2 separate regions of the Homo sapiens genome follow, and region 2 is linked to region 1. The links are contacts of gene promoters, found by promoter capture Hi-C in human tissues and cell types (Jung and others, 2019). All regions are on one chromosome and are shown on one strand. The core of a region is centred on a gene start or on the middle of the fragment in contact, and the rest is flanking DNA. Distances in the headings are between cores, read along the strand shown.

The links. The method cuts DNA at HindIII sites, captures the fragments that hold promoters and counts their contacts. A contact is called where the count stands out against the background at its distance.
Region 2: a contact is called between a fragment that was not itself captured here and the fragment with the promoter of MARVELD3 in region 1, in 3 of the 25 tissues and cell types used here (pancreas, spleen and stomach).

Annotation. Positions count from the first base shown.
Region 1 is chr16:71,622,375-71,627,636 of GRCh38, forward strand. MARVELD3 (MARVEL domain containing 3) reads left to right here and starts at 3,810. Exons shown (of 3, transcript NM_052858.6): 1 at 3,810-4,322. The coding sequence starts at 3,856. RefSeq lists a silencer at 4,631-4,680. The HindIII fragment of the contact is 11,141 bases long and covers 1-5,262 here.
Region 2 is chr16:71,660,889-71,666,195 of GRCh38, forward strand. It overlaps PHLPP2 (PH domain and leucine rich repeat protein phosphatase 2), which reads right to left. Exons shown (of 19, transcript NM_015020.3): 13 at 3,011-3,211. It also overlaps the pseudogene RNU6-208P. Among named protein-coding and RNA genes, the nearest start is that of SNORA70D, 35 kb to the right of the region's middle. The HindIII fragment of the contact is 7,294 bases long and covers 1-5,307 here.

The sequences.
Region 1 (5,262 bases), core at 2,560-5,059:
GCCTCATTATGGCACTAATAAATATTTTTATTCCTTCATGGTATGTTTTGGGCATCTGTCTCAGTTTTGGAACCAAATTTTGGGTGTGGTTTTCAAATTGTTTCTGTGGGATGATCAGCTGGATAAGAGGGAAAATTCTTCTTTACAGGAGAATGTCAACAAATTAATAAATTTAGAAGAATTCATAGAATTAGAAACCATGACTTTGCAACTATCATTGCAATAATTGATTCAGGCAAGAAAGGTTGTGGGGAAACACATTGTCTCAAAGTTATTAAATATAAAAGTGGAAGTACTTTTAAAATGGAGAATATAGCAGACACCACCTTGCCCAAGTGATCAATTTGACATCACCAATAATGGGACAAACTGACATCTTGTGCCTCCTGATAGGATGTACCAAGAAGGATACAACATCACCTATTTTAATCTGCCTGCCAAAAATATTGAACATAAATATAATCATAAGGAAACCATAAGACAAGCTCAAAATGAGAGTCAGTCTGAAAAAAAAAAAAATAACTGGACTAAACTCTCCTAAAAAATCAGTGCTGTGTGGCCTGGCACAGTGGTTCATGCCTATAATCCCAGCACTTTGGGAGGCAAAGGTAGGCAGATCACTTAAGCCCAGAGTCCGAGACCAGCCTGACCAACATGGTGAAATCCCATCTCTACTAAAAATACAAAAATTAGCTGGGCGTAGTGGTGCATGCCTGTAATCCCAGCTACTCGGGAGGCTGAGGCAGAGAATAGCTTGAACCCAGGAGGCAGAGGTTGCAGTGAGCTGAGATGGCGCCACTGCACTCCAGCCTGGCAACAGAGCGAGACTCGTCTCAAAAAAAAAAAAAAAAAAAAAAAAAAAAAAAAGTCAATGCTGTGAAAGAGAAAAAAAATGTTGGGAAACTGTTACAGATTGAAGGAGACTTAAGGGAGACTAAACAGACATGATGATGATGATGTGACAATGCATTATTCACATATCATGAATAGTCCTTAATTGAATCCTCAGATTTTAAGTGGGGAGGGAGTACATATAAAGGACATTATTGGAATAATAGGGGAATTGGGTTATAGAGTATATATTCGATAACATAATATCAATGCTAAATTTCTGGATTGTGGTCACTGTAATGTGGCTGTGTAGGAGGAAGTTATTCTTTGGAAAAATATGTTGAAGTATTTAGGGGAAGAGCCATGTGTCTGGAATTTAGCACACATGTTTCATTTTTTAAAGTTTTCATCCATATATAGAGAGATGGAACAAATGTGGCAAAATGATAATAATTTGTGTATAAAGACACAAAACAAAGAGAAATGAAACTAAAAGGCAAGCTGGTTTGAGGGTTTGTTTATTCTGAAAGAGGTCTGCAGAAGTCAAGAGCGAAGGTCGAAGAGAGGAAGGGCTATGCTGTTCCACAAACCATCCTGTGTCTGCTTGTTTACCAGGCTTCCTCTGCATCCATAGTTGTCCCGGGTTCAGAACAGGGCTTTGCTCAATAAAGATTTGTGGAAGGTCCTAGAATTTGGCCCCATCCTCTCCACTCTGGGAAGAAAGGCTTCAGGGGTCACAGTAGCACTTCTGTGGGTTGGAGGTTGATGTCTTGTCACCCCCACCCTCTTCTTTTTCCTTCTACTCACTCATCACTTCTTAATCCTCTTGAGTCTTAGCTCTAAAAGTTAGAATTCCCTAGGGACTCTGCCTAAGGCCTCTTCTCCATTCTACTTTCCTCCTTTCTCTACTCCCACAGAGCATCTCCAGCCCAATCCTCTCCCCATATTTCAGACTCATATATTCAACTGCAACTAGACATCTACACTTGGATGAATTATAGCCATCTCAAATTTACCATGTCCAAAATGGAACTCTCTAATTTCCCCGCAAATCTGGTTCTGTCCAGTCTCCCCCGTCTCAGTGAAAAACCCCACCATTCACCTGGTCACTCCTCCCCTCCCCTCATTTCCCCACATCTGATCCATACTGTAAATTCTTCCCCAAAACTACAACCTGGATCTGTCAACTTGTCACTGTCTCCATGGCCACCGTCACCCTCACCTGGACTCCTTCAGCAGCAGCTTTGTAACTCATCTCTTCCCTCTACTCTGGGCCTCCATCATCCACCCTCCTCACAGAAGCCAGAGTGGTCTTTCAAAAATATCAATCAGAAAGGTTTACTCTCCTCCTCAAAATCTTCAATGTTCTCCCATTGTTTAGAATAAAAATGCACACTGTCGTCTACACCATCTGCCTGGTCCACTTCTCCAGCCTCAATTCATGCCCACCAACTCTACTCCCAGGGACCTCCTTGTCCAGCTCCCGCGTTCCTCAACCTTCTCTCTTTCTGGGACATTTTCTCAGCCTTCTTGTCATCCAGAACTCAATTCAAACGACATCTTCCCAGGTCTATATGAGGAAACCTGCCCTTCCCATTAAACTTTAGACACTGTCTTCTTTGTTTACTACCTGTTTTCCCTTTTCCTGACACACTAGAATGCAATCACCCTGCAAGCAAATTTTCCACTATATCTCCAGTACCTGCTAAAGCAGGTGCTCATACATATTTGCTGAAAGAATTAATTACCAGATGGCAATTGTATATATTTTGTAATATCCTTACTTGGCAGAATTAAAAGCTGCCAATTTTGTGTAAGTCCCCATTTTAAAAAACAGGGCTATTTGTAAGCCCAGGACTATTGTGATAGATGAACTGGCTGCAAGCCCCTTACAACATAGGTGTTATAAGGAAAACAGGAGAAGGGAGAAAGAGGGACAGTGGATGGGTGGAGGGAGAAGTGGAAGGTGGGTGACTGGGTGGATGTGTGGGTAGGTTAGTGGCCAGATGGATGGATGAATGGGTGAGTGGATGAATGGTGGATGGGTGGATGCGTGGGTGGGTGGCTGGATGGGTGAGTGGGTGGATGAATGGGTGGATGGATGGGTGAGTTGGTAGATGGGTGGGTGAGTGGGTGGGTGGATGGGTGGATGAGTGAATGGGTGGGTGGATGGATGGTGGATGGGTGGGTGAGAGTGGATGGTTAGGTGAGTGGGTGGATGGATGGGCAGGTGAGTGGGTGAGTGGGCGGATGGTAGATGGGTGGGTGGATGGGTGGGTGAGTGGGTGGATGGGTGGATGGATGGATGGAGGGTGGGTGGGTGGGCGGATGGGCAGGTGAGTGGGCGGGTAGATGGGTGGTGGATGGGTGGGTGAGTGGGTGGATAGATGGATGGATGGGTGGATGGTTAGATGGGTAGGTGAGTAGGTGGATAGGTGGATAGACGGGTGTATGGATGGGTGAGTGGTTGAATGGGTGGATGGTTGGACGGGTGGGTGAGTGGGTGGATGGGTGGATGGATGGTGGATGGGTGGGTGAGTGGGTGGATGGGTGGGTGAGTGGGTGGATGGGTGGGTGAATGGATGAGCGGGTAGTGGGTGATTGGGTGAATGAATGAGTGTCTGGCTGAGTGAGTGAGAGGATGGGTACCTCTGGGAAGGTAAATCCAAGTTGCAGTGTAAGTTGAGCCAGGGGAGGTGGCCACAGTTGGCTCCCTTAGGCCGCCCACCTCGTGGGGTCACCAAGGGGTTACTTCGGGGCAGAAAGGTGCGGCTGTGGGTCGCCCCGCCCGGGTTTCCAGCAGCAGCACCCCAGCCCCCACCCAGCACACAGGCACCCCTCCCGCCCGGGCCCCAGACGCGCTCAGGCCGCCCCCTGAGGGCGCCCGTTCTCAGGTGAGCTCCCGGACTAGCGCGCATGCGCACAGGTGAGTGCCCGCCCCGCCCCCGGGCTTGGCCACCTGCCCAAGAAACTTGTTGGTTGTTGCCCTCAGGTCGCTCCCGGGCGGGGACACGGAACCCGGCCATGGAAGATCCGTCGGGGGCTCGCGAGCCCCGGGCCCGGCCGAGAGAGCGGGACCCGGGACGGCGCCCCCACCCAGACCAAGGCCGCACCCACGATCGACCGCGGGACCGACCCGGGGACCCGCGCAGGAAGCGAAGCAGCGACGGGAACCGGCGAAGGGACGGGGACCGGGACCCGGAGAGAGACCAGGAGAGGGACGGGAACCGCGACCGGAACCGGGACCGGGAGAGGGAGAGAGAGAGGGAAAGAGACCCGGACCGAGGCCCCCGCCGGGACACACACAGGGACGCGGGCCCTCGCGCAGGTGAACACGGAGTTTGGGAAAAACCGCGCCAAAGCCGGACGCGGGACGGAGCCCGGGGACTGACCTGGGACGCAGCCGCGCCTCCTGGGCCCGCGCCCTGGGAAGCCCCGGAGCCGCCGCAGCCGCAGAGGAAGGGAGACCCCGGGCGCCGCAGACCCGAAAGGTGAGAGGGGCCGGGGCGCTGCGACCTCCGCGCCGGGGACACCTGTGGCCCAGGCCGGCCCGCGAGGCCCTGGCGTCCCCGGGTTCTCGTCCTAGGAGCCCGTTTAAATGAACAAATGCCGTTTCTCCCTTCTGCGCTCTCAGAGGCGACCTGGCAGGGAAGGAAAACTTTAGGGTTCCCCCTTCTCGTGGCCTGAACCCAACTAACAAAGCAAAAACCACCCCTGTGAGCAGTGGCTGGGCTGGAGGACCTGGAGAAGAGAAAGAGAGGCCCCGGGACCCGAGAGGGAGGGGTGGGAGGAGACCAGGCGGGTGGGGTTCACCCCAGGCTCCTCCCCGGCCCGGCCCGCATGGTCACAGGACTGCGCCTTGGGGTTCAGACCCTTGTCCCGTGTTCCAGAGCCAGCCCTTCCCGACTCCAAAGTCCCCTTCCTTGTGGCCGGGCCGCCCACTTGGGAAGCCCGATGAAGAGTTAATAGTTTAATGTGTTACCCCTCCCAGGAATAGGTGCCTTCAGAAACAGGTGGGCCGGCGCGGTGGCTCATGCCTGTAATCCCAACACTTTGGGAGGCCGAGGCGGGCGGATCACCTGAGGCCAGGAGTTCGAGACCAGCCTGGCCAACATGGTGAAACCCCGTCTTTACTAAAAATACAAAAACTTAGCCAGGCGTGATGGCAGATGCCTGTAATCCCAGCTACTTGGGAGGCTGAGGAGGGAGAATCGCTTGAACCCGGGAGGCGGAGGTTGCAGTGAGCCGAGATCGCACCACTGCACTCCAGCCTGGGCGACAAAGCGAGACTCCGTCTCAAAAAAAAAAAAAAAAGTCAGATGGGAGACGCTACATTTTTAACCAAAGAACAAAGTCTACGTAAAATTCTCCCACTGAAGGGTACAGGTTTGTTTTCCCTTTTGCCAGTGAGGTCTCTCTAGGCAGCGTCAT
Region 2 (5,307 bases), core at 741-3,240, 37 kb after region 1:
ACAAGATTTCTATTGTGCCTATACAATTACAACACTGCTCAGGAAATGAACTGATAGTGGATTTATTATTTAGTACAGAACACACATTTTTAAAAATATGTTGTTCCTGAATTCCATTCAGTTTTATTATATATATTCAGATTACTCTATTTTTTGTGATGTTAATTCTTGTCTTTGTCTTTTTTTTTTTTTTTTTGAGATAGGGTCCCGCTCTGTTGCCCAGGCTGCAGTGCAATGGCGCAATCTCAGTTCACTGGAACCTCCACCTCCCAGGTTGAAGCGATTCTCATGCCTTGGCCTCCTGAGTAGCTGGGATTACAGGCAGGCACACAACACCACACTCAGCTGATTTTTGTATTTTTAGTAGAGACAGGGTTTCACCATGTTGCCCAGGCTGGTCTTAAACTCCTGATCTCACGTGATCCACCCAACTCAGCTTCCCAAAGTGCTGGGATTACAGGCGTGAGCCACCGTGCCAGGCCTAATTCTTGTCTTTATTACTAACTTCTTATTTTCATTTTCTTTGATATGTTTTAAGTTTTATATCAACCTGCTTTTGACCCCTCCAACAATAAAAGTGTCATCAAATTAGGTTTTACAGCATTATGCCTGGTACCATCCAACAGCTTCCAGTGGTCTATTATTTTCACTTTATATGAACATATTTGAGGTCAATTAGGTTAATCTGATAAAATTTCAAGAGAGCTACCACACCCTGAAATTAAGATTCTGCATTCATTTTAGAAGTCATTAAAAAAAAATGTAAAAGTAAAAAGTCATTGTTTTAATTCTTTCAAGGAGGCTGACCAGGCACAGTGGTTCACACCTATAATCCCAGCATTTTGGCAGGCTAAGGTGAGATGATCACTTGAGGCCAGGAGTTCAAGACCAGCCTGGACAACACAGCGAGATCCCACCTACACAAGTTTGTTTTGTTTTGTTTTGTTTTTTTTGAGATGGAGTCTTGCTCCGTTGCCAGGTTGGAGTTGCAGTGATACGATCTTGGCTCACTGCAACCTCTGCCTCCGGGGTTCAAGCGATTCTCCTGCCTCAGCCTCCCAAGTGGCTGGGATTACAGGCGCCCACCACCACACCTGGCTAATTTTTGTATTTTTAGTAGAGACGGGGTTTCACCATGTTGGCCAGAATGGTCTTGATTTCTTGACCTCGTGATCCGCCCGCCTCGGCCTGCCAAAGTGCTGGGATTACAGGCATGAGCGGCCACGCCCGGCCTCTACAAGTAAAAGGTTAGTCGGGTGCGGGCCGGGCGCAGTGGCTCACACCTGTAATCCCAGTACTTTGGGGGGCCAAGGTGGGCGGATCACGAGGCCAGGAGTTCGAGACTAGTCTGGCCAATATGGTGAAACCCTGTCTCTACAAAAATACAAAAAATTAGCCAGGTGTGGTGGCACATGCTTATAATCCCAGCTACTTGGGAGGCTGAGGCAGGAGAATCACTTGAACCTGGGAGGCAGAGGTTGCAGTGAGCCAAGACCACGCCACAGCACTCCAGCCTGGCCAACAGAGCAAGACTCCATCTCAAATAAATAAATAAATAAATAAGTTGGGTATGGTGGTGCATGCCTGTAGTCCCATCTCCTTGGAAGGTTGAGGCAGGAGAATCACCTGAACTCCAATCAAGTTTCTCCTGTATGTCTTCTGAAGCTCTATCTCATGTTGTAAATGGTAAATGTTCATAAAAATTATAATTTTATAATTTACATACATATAATTTCATCCAAAATTATTAATATCAAATGTCATTGCCTCACATTCTTAGTTTTTGAAAATATTATTTTTAATGACTACCTTCATGGCATAGATTTTTCTGGTGTTAAATTTTCCAGGTTTTAGCTGGTCATGGTGGCATGTGTCTGCAGTTTCAGGTACTTGAGAGGCTGAGGTAGGAGAATCACTTCAGCCCAGGAGTTTGAGACCAGCCTGGCCAACGTAATGAGATCCCATCTCTTAAAAAAAAAGTTCTAAAGTTGTTTTTTTTTTAACCAAATGTACTTTGAAAGGTATTTACTTATCCACTGACACTGTCTCAAACTTTCACAGCATTAAACATCTTTCTTATGTCTTCTTATAGGTATAGCCTGGCTAACTACTATTCATCTCTTCCTCCAGGGAGCCTAGCCCCATCCCCAGGCTCTGTGCAGTGTGACCGGCAATGTATGCATATCGTCTTTAACAGCCTGCCTTTCTATTTATTTATTTTATTTACTTAGTTATTTTTTTGAGACACAGTCTCACTCTGTCGCCCAGGCTGGAGTGCAGTGGTGCAATCTTGGCTCACTGCAACCTCCGCCTTCTGGGTTCAAGCAATTCTCCTGCCTGAGCCTCTCGAGTAGCTGTGATTACAGGCATGTGCCACCACGTACGGCTAATATTTTGTAGTTTTAGTAGAGATGGGGTTTCACCATATGGGCCAGGCTGGTCTCGAACTCACGAACTTGTGATCCGCCCGCCTTGGCCTCCCAAAGTGTTGGGATTACAGGCGTGAGCCACCACTCCCAGCCAAACACCCTGCCTTTCTTAGACTGCACTGCAACTGCCCATCCACTTGTTTATTTTCCCAATTTGACTATACATTCCTAGAGGACAGAGACTGTAACTGTTCACAATACTTGACATATAGTAAGCATTCCATTTTTGTATTATGAATAAATAGATAACAGTATTTTACAAAACAGTGCTGACAAGAGAAAAGAAAAAATTGTCTTCAGAATCTGTTTCATAAGCCTGTACTTTTCTAGATTGACTATTAGACCATAATTAAGAAGTCACAACTAAAAATTAAACATATTTTAACCAATTTTCCTGGTTACCAATACTTAACAGGGTACTAACTATTAAGATGAGATTTTGCCACTCAACTAGTGAAATCATAGCATCTGTAAGTCAGTGAACGTAAACAAAGAGTCATAGTCAGATGGCTATATTTTTTCTGACAAATATAGAATTAATGTTGTGTATTTGAAATGATCAAAGTTTGCATTCATTTTACCTTGCAGGAAAGGTCTGTAACTGATTGTTTGCAAGGTGCAAGATTCGCAGGTGCAGGTGCCCTACCAGGACAGGTATGCACTGATCCGTCAGGAGATTGTTGGTCAGATAAAGCAGCTGCAGCATACTCAAACTCTCCTCTCCAGTGCAGGCGGATGGTAAAGACTCCAGACTATTTGCAGATGCATTCAAGTATCTGAGACTGACAGAACACACACAGATCATCACCTCCTTTAAGTTTATTTGCTGCCTTCCTATATAGAAACCATCATGTCACCTCAGTATGGAATGCTGCCATTCTAAGCTTCCAAATGGGAAAAAAAAAAAAATCTCCACGTAGTTTTTCTCTAATTGATCCTATCCAACCCAAAGTTCCTTTTACTCAACTCATGCAAACCAAGTAGAGAGGAAAAAGTACAAGCCTGGTTGTTTTCCCAGGCTTCTGGAGTGCCTGATTCTAACCTAACTTCATCTTTTACTCTCAAACTGCCTACTGAAAGGATGTTGCTGAATATCATGTTCACATGTTTTTGAACTGTGAAGACACCATTTAGAAAAACTTTTGTCTGGGCCAGGCGCAGTGGCTCACGCCTATAATCCCAGCACTTTGGGAGGCTGAGGTGGGCAGACTACAAGGTCAAGAGATCAAGACCATCCTGGCCACCATGGTGAAACCCCGTCTCTACTAAAAAAAAAATACAAAAATTAGCTGGGTGTGGTGGTGCACTCCTGTAGTCCCAGCTACTCGGGAGGCTGAGGCAGGAGAATTGCTTGAACCCAGGAGGCTGAGGTTGCAGTGAGCCGAGATCGTGCCACTGCACTCCAGCCTGGCAACAGAGTGAGACTCCATCTCAAAGAAGAAAAAAAAAATTTTTTTGTCTGGTTTTAATAGCATCATTATGTATTCAGCCAATTCCATAATCCCCTAATAAAGAACATATAGGCTGTTTCCATTTCTATACACATGCTATTATAGACACTGTAATGAGCATCTTTGTATCCTTAACCAATTACTTCCTTAGGGTACATTCCTAAAAACAGAATTTGTGGGATCAAAGGATATACATTTTTTAGAGATTTAATATATTGCCAAACTGAGCTCTTGAAAGAGTATATGAAATTATACTTCCGGCTGGGCGAGGTGGCTCACGCCTGTAATCCCAGCACTTTGGGAGGCCAAGGTGGGTGGATCACGAGGTCAGGAGATGGTTAACATCCTGGCCAACATGGTGAAACCTCATCTCTACTAAAAATACAAAAAAAAAGCTGAGTGTGGCGGCACATGGCTGTAATCCCAGCTACTTGGGAGGCTGAGGCAGGAGAAATCGCTTGAACCCAGGAGGCGGAGGTTGCAGTGAGCTGAGATCGTGCCACCGCACTCCAGCCTGGCGACACAGCTAGACTGCATTTCAAAAAAAAATAAACTATACTTCCACAAGAAGACTATTAAGAATGCCAGTTTGTCACACCTTTGTCAACACTGAATATTACAAATCCATTAATCTTTGCCAGTCTAGTAGATAAAACATGGTATAATTTTAAAATTTGCTAACATAGTGTTTAGTATATACAGAACATTCTCAATAAAAGGCAGCTATTATTACTAAACTTGTGTGTTCTCAGGTCTTCTTCATGTTGTATGATCCATAATCCCTGATTCACTTTTTATATTGAAATATAAGTTTTACATAACGAATTAGCTTTTAAGCTAATGGCAGGTACTGTGTGTCTGCTTGTGCTGTGGTCTCAACAAAGCTCTTTCCAGAGTTTGTATTAAATAAATACCACTGACAGTTCGCTACAGCTAAGTTACTCACTAAAGATTCTAAGGTTGTAAACTAATTTCATTCAGACTACCATAAGGACCAAATGCAGCGTTATGCATTGCTAACAAACATTTGTAGATTAACAACTGCATCAATACTCCATTAAATGTTACATAAAGAAAACTTCCTTTAAATACGTTTTAGAATTTCCAAAGATTTTATTTTGAAGACTATCCAATCAACTGTATTATACATTAAGAGATGTATAAGCTGCTAAAGAGAGAACAAGCCAGACAACTGTGGGCTAAACAGTTTTTTACGTCTCCTATTCATTTACTTCTGCTCACCTCTGTTTTCTCCATTTCTAAATTGAAGACAATATTGCTTTCTCCACGTTGTAGAAAAATATAATAAAAACTAGTTTTCAGTGCTTGCTTTGGCAGCACATGTACTAAAATTGGAACGATATAGAGAAGATTAGCATGGACCCTGAGCAAGGATGACAGGCAAATTTGTGAACCATTCCGTATTA